Regions from separate parts of the Homo sapiens genome. Here region 2 is linked to region 1. The links are contacts of gene promoters, found by promoter capture Hi-C in human tissues and cell types (Jung and others, 2019). All regions are on one chromosome and are shown on one strand. Each heading gives the region's core, a stretch centred on a gene start or on the middle of the fragment in contact. The rest is flanking DNA. Distances are from core to core; before and after follow the strand shown.

What was found. Contacts are between HindIII fragments. The study calls those that stand out against the background at their distance.
Region 2: a contact is called between a fragment that was not itself captured here and the fragment with the promoter of IFNGR2 in region 1, in 2 of the 25 tissues and cell types used here (H1 embryonic stem cells and dorsolateral prefrontal cortex).

The regions. Positions count from the first base shown.
Region 1 is chr21:33,399,078-33,404,662 of GRCh38, reverse strand. It overlaps IFNGR2 (interferon gamma receptor 2), which reads right to left and starts at 1,250. Exons shown (of 7, transcript NM_005534.4): 1 at 1,047-1,250. The coding sequence starts at 1,119. RefSeq lists cis regulatory regions at 151-651, 1-680, 1,248, 1,525, 1,535 and 2 more, silencers at 682-731, 872-921, 942-1,021, 1,032-1,571 and promoters at 1,126-1,530, 1,125-2,292, 1,664-2,302, 1,146-2,302. The HindIII fragment of the contact is 6,342 bases long and covers 1-4,510 here.
Region 2 is chr21:33,072,324-33,077,908 of GRCh38, reverse strand. OLIG1 (oligodendrocyte transcription factor 1) reads right to left here. Exons shown (of 1, transcript NM_138983.3): 1 at 5,496-5,585. Among named protein-coding and RNA genes, the nearest start is that of OLIG1, 5.0 kb to the right of the region's middle. The HindIII fragment of the contact is 4,648 bases long and covers 955-5,585 here.

The sequences.
Region 1 (5,585 bases), core at 1-2,500:
GAGCTCAGGAGTACAAGAACAGCCTGGGCAACACAGTGAGACCTCCTCTCTACAAAAAATACAAAAATTGGCCAGGCGTGGCCAATAATACCACCTTCTTGGGAGGCTGACGTGGGAGGATCGCTTGAGCACGGGAGGCGGAGGCTGCAGTAGCTGAGATGCTGCCCACTGCACTCCAGCCTGGGCGACAGAGCGACACCCTGTCTCAAACAACAATAAAATAAATAAATGCCTGGCTCAGTTGACACTCTTCCTCTTCCGCCCCAACACTGATGGGACCCGGACAGTTCTGAGCCCTGCCTGAATGCTGCTGCCCCATCTCTATGACCGCGGGAACTGTCTAGATTTCACACCCAGTGTCAAACATGCCCTCGGCCAAAGTCGGAATTGAGTCTGGGTCACCCGTCCAAGACGCTGGTCCCTGCTCCACCGCTGCTACTACAAAGGGACTGAGTCTAGCTTCCAGCCAGGCCTTCGGGAGGCACTCCAGGCGGGGACTAAGCGCAGTCTCGCCAGGCTGCAGAACCAGTGGCCAGCAAAGGCGGCCCCCGCCGGAGCCCTGGATTCAATTTGCTGTTGTTCATTCCGAGAAATTCGGAGACTGGGGCCACGCTGGCTTTCCCGGCGCGGGCGCGCGGGTGGGGGAGGTGGCGCAGCCGAGGTTACCGGCTTCACGGAGGGGCACCGAGTGTCCTCTCCCGGAGAGGGGTGTCCCGGCGGCCAGGACGCCAGGAGGGGTGCCCCCCGTCTTCCTGCTGCTGCCCAGCTCCTGTCTGGAACTCCTGGCCGCCCATCCCAGCCCCGCTGCGGGCTCCCAGCGGGCCCCTCTAGCCCTGGGCACCCCGCAAGACCCCCACCTGGGGCACCCGCAGGTTCCCACCTGATCTGAGCACTCCGCATATCCCACCCACCAGGAGCACCCCGCAGATTCCCACCCACTCTGAGCACCCGGCAGATTCCCCCCACCCCACGATCCGGGAGTCCCCCAGCCCCCACATGCTGCGGCTGCGCCCGCGTCCCGCCGCGGAGGCCCAGGCCCGGCTCACCTGGCGGGGCCGCGGCGGCGGCGGCGAAGACTCCGAGCAGCAGCAGCAGCGACCACAGCAGCGTCGGTCGCATGGCCCCGGGCGCTCGGCGGCGGCTCAGGTCGCGGCCGGGGCCCCGCTCGGGGTCCGCGGAGCCGCTCACGTCGCCGCCCAAACCGCCATGGCGAGCGCAGGGCGCGCAGGGCCCGCCTCTTCCCGAGCAGCAGCGGGGCGTCCCGGTGGAGGGGATTCGGCTCGGCCGCCCGCGCCCCCGCCCCCGCCCCGTCCCGCCCCCGAGGCCACCGCCCCCGCGCGGGACTTTCCCGCTCCGGGAACCGCGGCCCTGGGGGGCCTCTGCGGCTGCAGCGCGGGGACCCCACGCAGCCGGCCTCCCAGAGCGCGGAGCCTCCCGGAACGTCCTGGAGACTGGAGCCCCGCGGGACGCCCACCTTCGGGGGCCGCGATCCTTCCGGAAGGGCCCCGCGAGACCCCGGCCCAGACCCCCGGGCTTTCCCTGGAGCCCCCACCCCTCCTGACCCCCCCCAACTCTCCTCTCGGGTGCTTGATCGCACAATTCGAGGATTCGCCCCTTTAGTCGAAATGTTTGCTTTAATAGCCCCCAAAGTACATATTAAGCTTTCAACTCTCCCCCGCCCCCCTCCCCTTTTTTTTGAGACGGAGTCACCAGGCTGGAGTGCAGTGGGGCGATCTCGGCTCACTGCAACCTCCGCCTCCAGTCAACCCCATTTTGAAAAGGGTTTTAAGGGGAAGGAGTTAGAAAGGGCCCAGTGAAGGAGGAGGTGGGGCTCTGGGGGTGGGGGGAATGGCCTCCGAGCAGGGGGAGGGAGAGACAGAAACTTCCAGCATTTCTAAATGGCGTGGGGTTTGCCCTGGAGCCGGCGGCGGTGCACGAGTAGGAAGTCCTTTAGCAGCTGGGCAGCCGCAGGCCCGCTCCCCAGCCCGAGCCTGCACCATGTCGTTTGACGCCTGTTGGGAGAGGGTTTTAAATCTGCCCTGTTCTTCCAAGATGCGTCATAAAGCTAGCGCAGCAAAGGAGGGACGCGGTGCAGGGAGACCAAGAATTTAAAAACAGGTCGTCCCGGGAGCCCACTGGACACGTTAGCAAAAATGGGTTTTGCAACATAGAGCTTTTCTTTTGCTCTTCCCACATTCTTGCATTTCCTCTTTGTAGAACTATTTTGAAATTGGCCACGCTCGTGAAAATACGTGATGAAATACCTCGCAGACAATTGAATTATGCATTGGATATTTCTAGATACAGAGATGTATTTATATGTTACACGAAAAAAGCGGGCGATAACTTGGAATCACTTCAAAAAGTATGCACTGATGCCAGGCGCGGTGGCTCACGCCTGTAATCTCAGCACTTTAGGAGGCCGAGGTGGGCGGATCACATGAGGCCAGGAGTTGGAGACCAGCCTGGCCAATATGGCTGAAACCCGTCTCTACTAAAAATACAAAAATTAGTCAGGCGTGGTGGCCGGCGCCTGTAATCCCAGCTACTTGGAGGGCTAAGACAGGAGAATCACTTGAACCCGGGAGGCGGAGGTTGTAGTGAGCGGAGATTGCGCCACTGCACCCCGGCCTGGGTGACAGACCGAGACTCCGTCTCAAAAAAAAAAAAAAAAAAAAAAAAAAAAAAAAAAAAAAAAGGCACTGAAAATGACAGGATTGCAAGAAGGATTCTGTTTTCAAACAAATAAATAAAATTACAAGAAAACGACTGGGTGAAAGATGCCAACATTCTAACAAGAAATCGGTTACAGGATCACACAAGTGTCATCCGCCTCAGGGGATGTAACCGAATGCTGGTTCAGTCGCTGGCTGCTTGCAGAGTCTAACAAGAGCAAGATGTGGTGGAAAGAAAGTGACTTTATTTCCAAAGCTAGCAAGGGGAAGTGGTTGGATTCCTATCCCCAAAGCAATCACGTTGAATTGTGGGGTATGGGGAGTGGGAAAGGCAAGGGTTATTTATTTTATTTATTTATTTATTTATTTATTTATTTATTTATTTATTTATTTGAGACAGAGTCTCCGTCACCCAGGCTGGAGTGCAGTGGTGTGATCTCCGCTCACTGCAAGCTCCGCCTTCTGGGTTCACACCATTCTCCTGCCTCAGCCTCCCGAGTAGCTGGGACTGCAGGCGCACGCCACCACACCCGGCTAATTTTTTGTGTTTTTTGTAGAGATGGGTTTTCACCGTGTTAGCCAGGTTGGTCTCGATCTCCTGACCTCGTGATCTGCCTGCCTCGGCCTCCCAAAGTGCTGGGATTACAGGCGTGAGCCACCGCGCCCGGCCAAGGCAAGGGTTTAAAACGGGAAAACGATGTGGAAGTCAGGCAAGGATTATGCTAAGTACACTGTCTGTTTGTCTTGTTCCGGTGGCTGTCTTGGGTCCTAGTCCACAGGAAGCCTGTGGTCTGGCATCATCTCAACAATGGCTGGATTCTTAATTAGACGCCTTGAGGTCACATGTGGAATTTTGCAGAAGAATCTCCAGGCTTGGTCTGTCTGTCTCAAGATTAGCGTCTGGAACCTCTAAGAAGGCACGTAACTAGACACGGGCATACAGTTAGATAAATGTGAAGGGAGTTTATACGGTGAAGAAGGGAGGGACATGGAGTCCATTTTAAGGCTAAGGGAAAAGGCTTCTGCAGTTTGTTTCAAGGTTACATCTTTGATGGCTGGGTGCGGTGGCTCACGCCTCTAATCCCAGCGCTTTGGGAGGCTGAGCCAGGTGGATCACCTGAGATCAGGAGTTCAAGACCAGCCTGGCCAACATGGTGAAACTCGTCTCTACTAAAAATACAAAAATTAGCCAGGCGTGGTGGCATGTGCCTGTAATCCCTGCTACTTGGGAGGCTGAGACAGGAGAATCACATGAACCCAGGAGGTGGAGGTTGCCGTGAGCTGAGATCATGCTGCTGCACTCTAGCCTGAGCCACAGAGCAAGACTCTGTCTCAAAAAAAAAAAAAAAATTGTAACCTGTATATCATTCTAAAGAAATACTTTTGGCCAGATGTGGTGGCTCACACCTGTAATTCCAGCACTTTGGGAGGCCGAGGTGGGTGGATCACCTGAGGTCAGGAGTTCAAGACCAGCCTGGCCAACATGGTGAAACCCCATCTCTACTAAAAATAGAAAAATTAGCCAGGCATAGTGGCAGGTGCCTGTAATCCCAGCTACTTGGGAGGCTGAGGCATGACAATTGCTTGAACCTGGGAGATGGAGGTTGCAGTGAGCTGAGACAGCACCACTGCACTCCAGCCTGAGTGCAGAGTAAGGCTCCATCTCAAAAAAAAAAAAAAAAGAAAAGAAAAAGAAATACTTTTGTGCCTAATTTTATAGTGAGTTGTGTATTTGTTTATAAAGAGGGCTCCATCTATTATATACACTTCAGCCCTACAAACCCTGAATCTGCACCATCCCTTTCCATTAATTCCTTACCTTGTAATCAGTTGATCTTCCTGAAGCATTTCTAATAGCCTAGAGGGACTCCTCTCACCTCCCTCAGGAGAGTGGGTGGGGGATGGCAGAAAGAAGCCAACATTTTTTGCTGGCCAGTGGTGCTTCTCTAGGTATTATAACACTCAGACCTCCCAGTTAGGCAGGCGATGGCTGTCCCATGGGGACACTAGCAGAGTTCAGTGACTTGGCCTGTGGTGGGTTTGCACTGCAGTAGGTCTGCTAAACTGTAACTGCATTTCCTAGAATTCCCCTCCCTGAAAAGTTCTGAGGTAACATGGGCAGGGAAGGATGTTTGTGTGTGTCTTGGTCCATTTTCTGTTGCTTATAACAGAATATCTGAAGCTGGGTAATTGATAAAGAAAAGGCATTTATTTCTTACATTTTGGGAGGCTGAGAAGTCCAAGGTCTAGGGACTAAATCTGGTGAGGGCCTTCTTGCTGGTGGAGATTCTCTGCAGAGTCATGAGGTGGTCAGGGCATCACATGGCAAGGGGGGCTGAGGGTGCTAAGGTGCTCGGATTTATCTTCCTCTTTTTTTTTTTTTTCTTTTGAGATGGAGTATCACTCTGTTGCCTAGGCTGGAGTGCAATGGTGCAATCTTGGCTCACTGCAACCTCTGCCTCCTGGGTTCAAGCAATTTTCCTGCCTCAGCCTCCCAAGTAGCTGGGATTACAGGCACCTGCCACCACACCCGGCTAATTTTTGTATTTTTAGTAGAGTTGGTGTTTCACCTGTTGCCCTGGTCTTGAACTACTGACCTCAAGTGATCCACCTGCCTCGGCCTCCCAAAGTGTTGGGATTACAGGAGTGAGCCACCATGCCCATCCCCTCTTTTATAAAGCCACCAGCCCCACTCCCATGATAACCATTGGTCCATGAACCCATTAGTCCATGAATGAATCCACCCATCCATGAGGGCAGGATCACCATAACCAATCACCTCTGAAAGGCCTCATTCCTCCATACTGCCATATTGGGAATCAAATTTCCAGCACGTGAAATTTGGGGACACATTCAAACCCTAGCAATGTGCGAGACTTGGAAGATGGAAGGAAAGGTGCAGCCATATTC
Region 2 (5,585 bases), core at 2,029-4,528, 330 kb after region 1:
CCAGCCCTGCACGCCTTCCCCAACAGCCTCGCTGGGGCAGTTCATGGTTCAAAGCCTACAGCCCTCCATCTGAGTTACTGTGAGTCTGTGTGAATATAAAATACAAAAGGCATCTCTGATGCCCTCACAGCCCCTAGAACCATGGAGACCATGGTCATAAGTGAATTCAAAAGTTGTCTATTAAACGGGGTGCTGTAATGTTCCATTTTATTTTTTCCTACACTGGACACCTGTGCACTGATAGAGACTCATATATAGGCTGTACCTTCTGCCCATGGCTGTGGGGAACCAGGACTGCAGAGGAAGCATGTGAGTGAAGCCACCGGAAGCAAGCAAATGGAACAAAACCAGCACCACGACCACCACCACCACCACCACCACCATCACCACCATCACCACAATACAAATACTCTCTTTGATTGGTCCTCTGGGTAGATAAAATGTTATCAAATCACCTCCAAGCTTTCTTTACTGATTCTTCATCTGCTCAAACTATTTTTTAAGATTTGAACAGAATGACACCTAATGATCACTGTCTGAGGAGTTTAGGGTTTTTATTTTCTTGCCTGTAACACTCAGTGGTGACCAGGACGAGGAGCATGTATGTGTTGAAGGGTGCGGGCTGCGTGAAGCCTCCCTTCTGCCCCATCCGCAATCCCTGACATCTCACTACTCACATTCTTAGATCAGTCTCCGCCAGGTCTGAACATTTTGGAAATAAAAATCAGATAAAAATGAAAAAGTGAAACTGAAAAAAAAAGAAAGCTAAAAGTGAAATGACCTAAAAGAATGACCCCATGGTCTCAGGCTCAAGAAAGAGGAGACAGGGAGTGGCGAGACGTTGACGCCTGGATCATGCATTGGTTAGACATGCAATTAATAGAAGCAGCCACAGCCAGGCATGGGGCGGGCACTGGGGTACAGGTGGGGTTTCCCAGCCTTGCCCCAAGAGCTAAGGGGAGGAAGGAAAATGACCCCTCTCCACATTACAGCAATGACAGAGAGGACAACCCTTGGGGGCTCTCTTTCTTCTAGACAGAGCCTCATTTCTTTCTGTGTCTGGCTGCTACAACTTCCCTGAACTGGCTTCAGCTTCTTCTGTCTCTGTATCTTCATGTTTCTGTTTTCTCATCTGTAAAATGGGGATAACGCTGGTGCCTACAAAATGAAAGCATGCATGTAAAATGCTTACAACCCTGCTTGGTGCCCGATAACACAATGAGCTCTTATCAGCACCATTGTTATTTTTATTTCTGGTAGTAATGCTCTGCCATTTCTGCAGAGTAGCTTCTCCTTCCCACCTGCCTGCCCCCAGGTGAGTTGGCTTTTCTTTTTTCTTTCTTTTTAACCTCACAGACAAGTCTTCTCATCTGCTCTTGTGATTTTGAAGTCTCCAGGTCCTATGACTTTGGCATTCTCTAAGGAGCTACCCACATCACTTAGAAGCTTCTGGGACACAACAGCCCTTATTGAATCCCAGTGCTGGGAGCCTGTTTCCTGGGCCCCATGGCTTGCCTTGGACTGGTGCTCCAGGTACAGGGCCTGTCAGGGGCGTCTGTCCTCTATTTCAGGCCACCACTGCAGAGGGGCCTGTTGGGGAATCACTCGTGTCCATGAAAAACACTCAACAAAAAGATGCCGACGACGTTGACACAGGTTCCAGCAGGGTCAGAATGTCTAGTTTCCACATGAAAACACTGTGAGGCAGCCAGGAGGAGAAAGTCTCTGAAGCTGTGCCTTCAGAAGCCGTTTTCTCCTTGCACCCTGCTGCCCTTGTCTGTCAGCCGTCTGCTTGCTCACTTTCAGAAACTCGAATGACAAACCTGCAACCGTCAGAGGATCTCTCACAGAGGTGGCCTTGCCTCTGCCACTCCCTGTCACCAGTCTGGGCCTCTCTTGGGGCTAGGGGGCGAGGCTGCCGAGAAAGTTCAGGTGACTCAACTGCAGTCAGGTCAGCCAGCAAGGGATTTGTCCTGAGCCTATCTCTCCTGGATGCCACCAGCAGGGCCAGCCTACAGGCTGAGCAGAGAGGCTGGAAGAGACCAGAGGACCGAGATTTTCCAGGGGAGGGCAGAAGAACATGCTCAGCTCTGGGTGGGGACCTCCTGTTGGGATTCCCATTCCTTGTCTCACCAGGACAGACCAAGGAAGCAGCCCGTGCTTCCCCAAAGCAGGCGCTAGTCCCTGGCATTACTGCCTCTGACCACCTGTGTGGCTTTGACTGTGGTTCCCGACCATCCTGGGCCTCGGTTGCCTTATTCAGTAGGGAGAAGAGAGAATGGATGATTTGCAACTGCCTTTGCCTGCCAGCATTCATGAGACTCAGATATGATTTGGTACCTGCGGCCTTTGTCCCAGGTAGTGGCCTACTTGCGTGCTCTGTCCTCGGTGGTCACCGCAGAAGGCTTAGCATGGACGTAGAATGCATTCTTTTTGCTTTCAATCAAGGCATTCCCCCCCCACCCCCACCCCCCCACACACACAAAAGCGTCATGCAGCCTGTAGTGTTTAAGGACTTGGAATATTCAGCTCCTTGTCCTGAGCTCAGAGCCTGGCCTGTCAACAGCAGCAGGAGGGAAGGGGGAGAGTTTGCGGAGAGCTCCTAATCCCGTGTGAGCAGAAAGAATGTGGTTTGGTTTCTTTTCAGGCATGTCAGCTTTTACGCTGGGCTTAGTTAAAAATGACAGAATGGGAACTGCCTTAAGAATGATTTTCCGATGTCTCCATAAATAACGAGACTAGTTTGTGTGCAGGTTTTGAGGAATATCTTGCTACTCCAGTTTTGCACGTTAACTGGATCTTACTTGGAAACAGTATTTCTAACGTCTTTCCCCACACCTAAAAATCTGCTGGAGAAAAGTGAATTCATGTTTTTGAAAAACATGGCATTTTTCACCCCATTGCTTTGTGAGCCTACTTCAGTGAATGTGGTAATCTTCTTATTGAATATTTATTGTGTGTGCAGAAGAGAAAAGAGGCAGTGAAGAAGCAGGAAAATACCTTCTGAGGGAAATATACTTTCCTAGTCAATGCACTGCATACCCAGGGAGCAAAAGTGTCAATTGAATGACTCTTCCCAACCATCACCTTGCTCTTGGCAAGTTCATCAGGTATCCTTCTATGGCAGAAAAGAAAAGCCCCTTTTTTTCCTGGCTGGCTTCCTAAACACAACAGGAGGCTCCAGGGGGTCTAGTTAGCAGGCTGAGGCTCTCTTGTACCCAGCCTCACCTGCGTACCTAAGCATTCAGGAAAGACCAAACACCTTAAAGTGGAGTGCAAGATGGAAGCATTGTCGTTCATCTTCTAAACTTCAGTAAGTGGAAACATTTTCCATGATTGGAGAGGAGCCTCTTCCTCGAAGCAGCCACTTACCCTCTAAGCTGTATATTTCACAAAGTTAAATTTTTATGTCTAGTGTCATCAGTTTCCCTTAGAGGAGAACATCTGTAAGTAGACCATCACTGCGGGCTAGGCAAATCCCATCGTGTATTGATTCTGCCCTCTGTCTACTGATTGCTCACCTGGACTCCAATATATATAACAATATAATTTCTCAGGGCCTTGTGTATTTTCCCATTAGGTTCAGTTTACTCTAATTGCCAGGACCTCACTTTGGTGGTTGGCTGGATGCAGGGAACTTTTTTGGCAGTGAGCCGTGGGTTCCTTCTCATCTTGCTTCTGAGCTCTTAGAGTGCCTTTCTTGAGGAACCTTACTAAGACCCTCCCAGCTGTCCCAAACCCTTCAAAGGCTAGCTTACACTTGTTCCTTCTGAACAAAGCCCACTCCAGCTAAAATCAAGTATGGTGGACAATTCAGCTAGCTCCTTTGCTGGCGTGACATAGCACTGAACATTTCTAAAAGCAGCTCCATGCTCTAGAACACACATGTCTAAGCTTAAACTCTGCATGCAGAATACACTGCCCTGCCATAGACAGATGTTGAGCAGTCTGACTTTGCATTGTGGACACTGTATATAATTACCTTTTATCTGTTTCATCCTACAGGACTCTTCAATGCTTGCTGGTACTATTTTTTAGGATGTAAACTCCTTCTATAGAGCAAGTCTGCTAATCTTGCTTGGCACAACGGCCAAAAGCACGCTACGTGCAGGCAGATAAGTATTTTGATGGCACCCAAAACAGCCCCGTGTGTCCTTGTTAAATTTATTTATAGCCTTTGGCCCTTCTGAAAAGCATGATAGGCTGTGATTTTCTTAGTTAAATAAAAAAAAAATCATACACATATAGTGTTACTTTTCCTATAAGGCATGGGCGGCTTGTTCCCATTTACAGGTAGAGAAGGGCAGACCCATTTTCTGCCCTGTAGCTTTGGGCTCCTTTTAGAGATGATGTCTGGAATGACAGTGGCATCTAGGTGCTGGTGTTGGACAGTGGGAGAAATTGTTTGTTTCTAATCCCTTAGAAGTATTTTTGTTTCAAGGAGAACCTAATTTGCTTTTGATTTCATTGATTTTCACTTTTTTCCCCTACCCCTTGCCAAGATATAAGGTAAGCAAGGAAAGGCATTGAATAAACAGAAGGCCAGAGTTCAAATCTACTTTTTATAAAAGTGGTGACTTTGCTGGTGGCAGAGTCTAGGAAGCATGAGAAATCCTCTTTTGGAATGAGTTGGTGCACAGAGCACCTTCTCCCATGCCCTGTCCTGACTTCTCCTTAAGGAAATAGACACAGCATGGTAGCCGGGCAATGCCATCTCTCCAGCCACCTCCCACCTCCTTCCCCCACCTCCAAAGTGGTGCTCATTTTCTCTAAATGTGTATATGCCTCAGATAAACCAACATGGATAAAATTGAGTAAGTCATCTCTGGGTTTTCTTTAATTTTCCTCAGGTTAAAGGGGACACTACTTCTCTACTACTCCCCTACATTAAACAGTGGTTGGGTTTCATTAATAATTATGCAGTGTTTCATTATTGCAATGTGAGCAGGTCAGCCTTCCAAATTCTTTTTAAGAGCACCAAACAGACAGAAGAGCTTTCTTCACCTCTTAGGTGAAGACAATTCCAACCTGATTTAAATGATAAGGGGTAGGTGGGTGCAGCAGCGGGAAGCTCATGCTTGTGTGGTATTAAGCTTCTGTCCAAGGATATAGAAAAGGTGGATATCCTGGAAGGATGTTGAGCTACAATTTTATGATAAAGGTATTGCTTAACCCATTTTCCAGGGGATGAAGTTGTAGTTAAAAAAGACCTATGCCTGAAGCTTGGCAAAGAATGAATTCCTGGAATTGCCTCTCTCCCTTCTCTATCCCATTCTCTATCCCACCCACCCACTTACCTATAATCCTCATATTTCCCACGAATGCCTGAACTTGAACTACAGTTGCCTGTTCATTGGATTATTTTACAAATCAGGAAGTCACATTTTAAAACCTGGGACCCCGGTCATTTACCTACCTTCACCCCAAGGTTCTAAATCCACTAGGATACAAGGACTTTTTTATTACCAAACAAATCAGACAAAAAATGTAAAAAATCAGACTTTAAATGTTTTATTTTGTTGATTCTGTACACCGTCAGGAAACAAGGTTAGAAGTAAAATAAAGTGCCAGTTAAATTCGGCTAC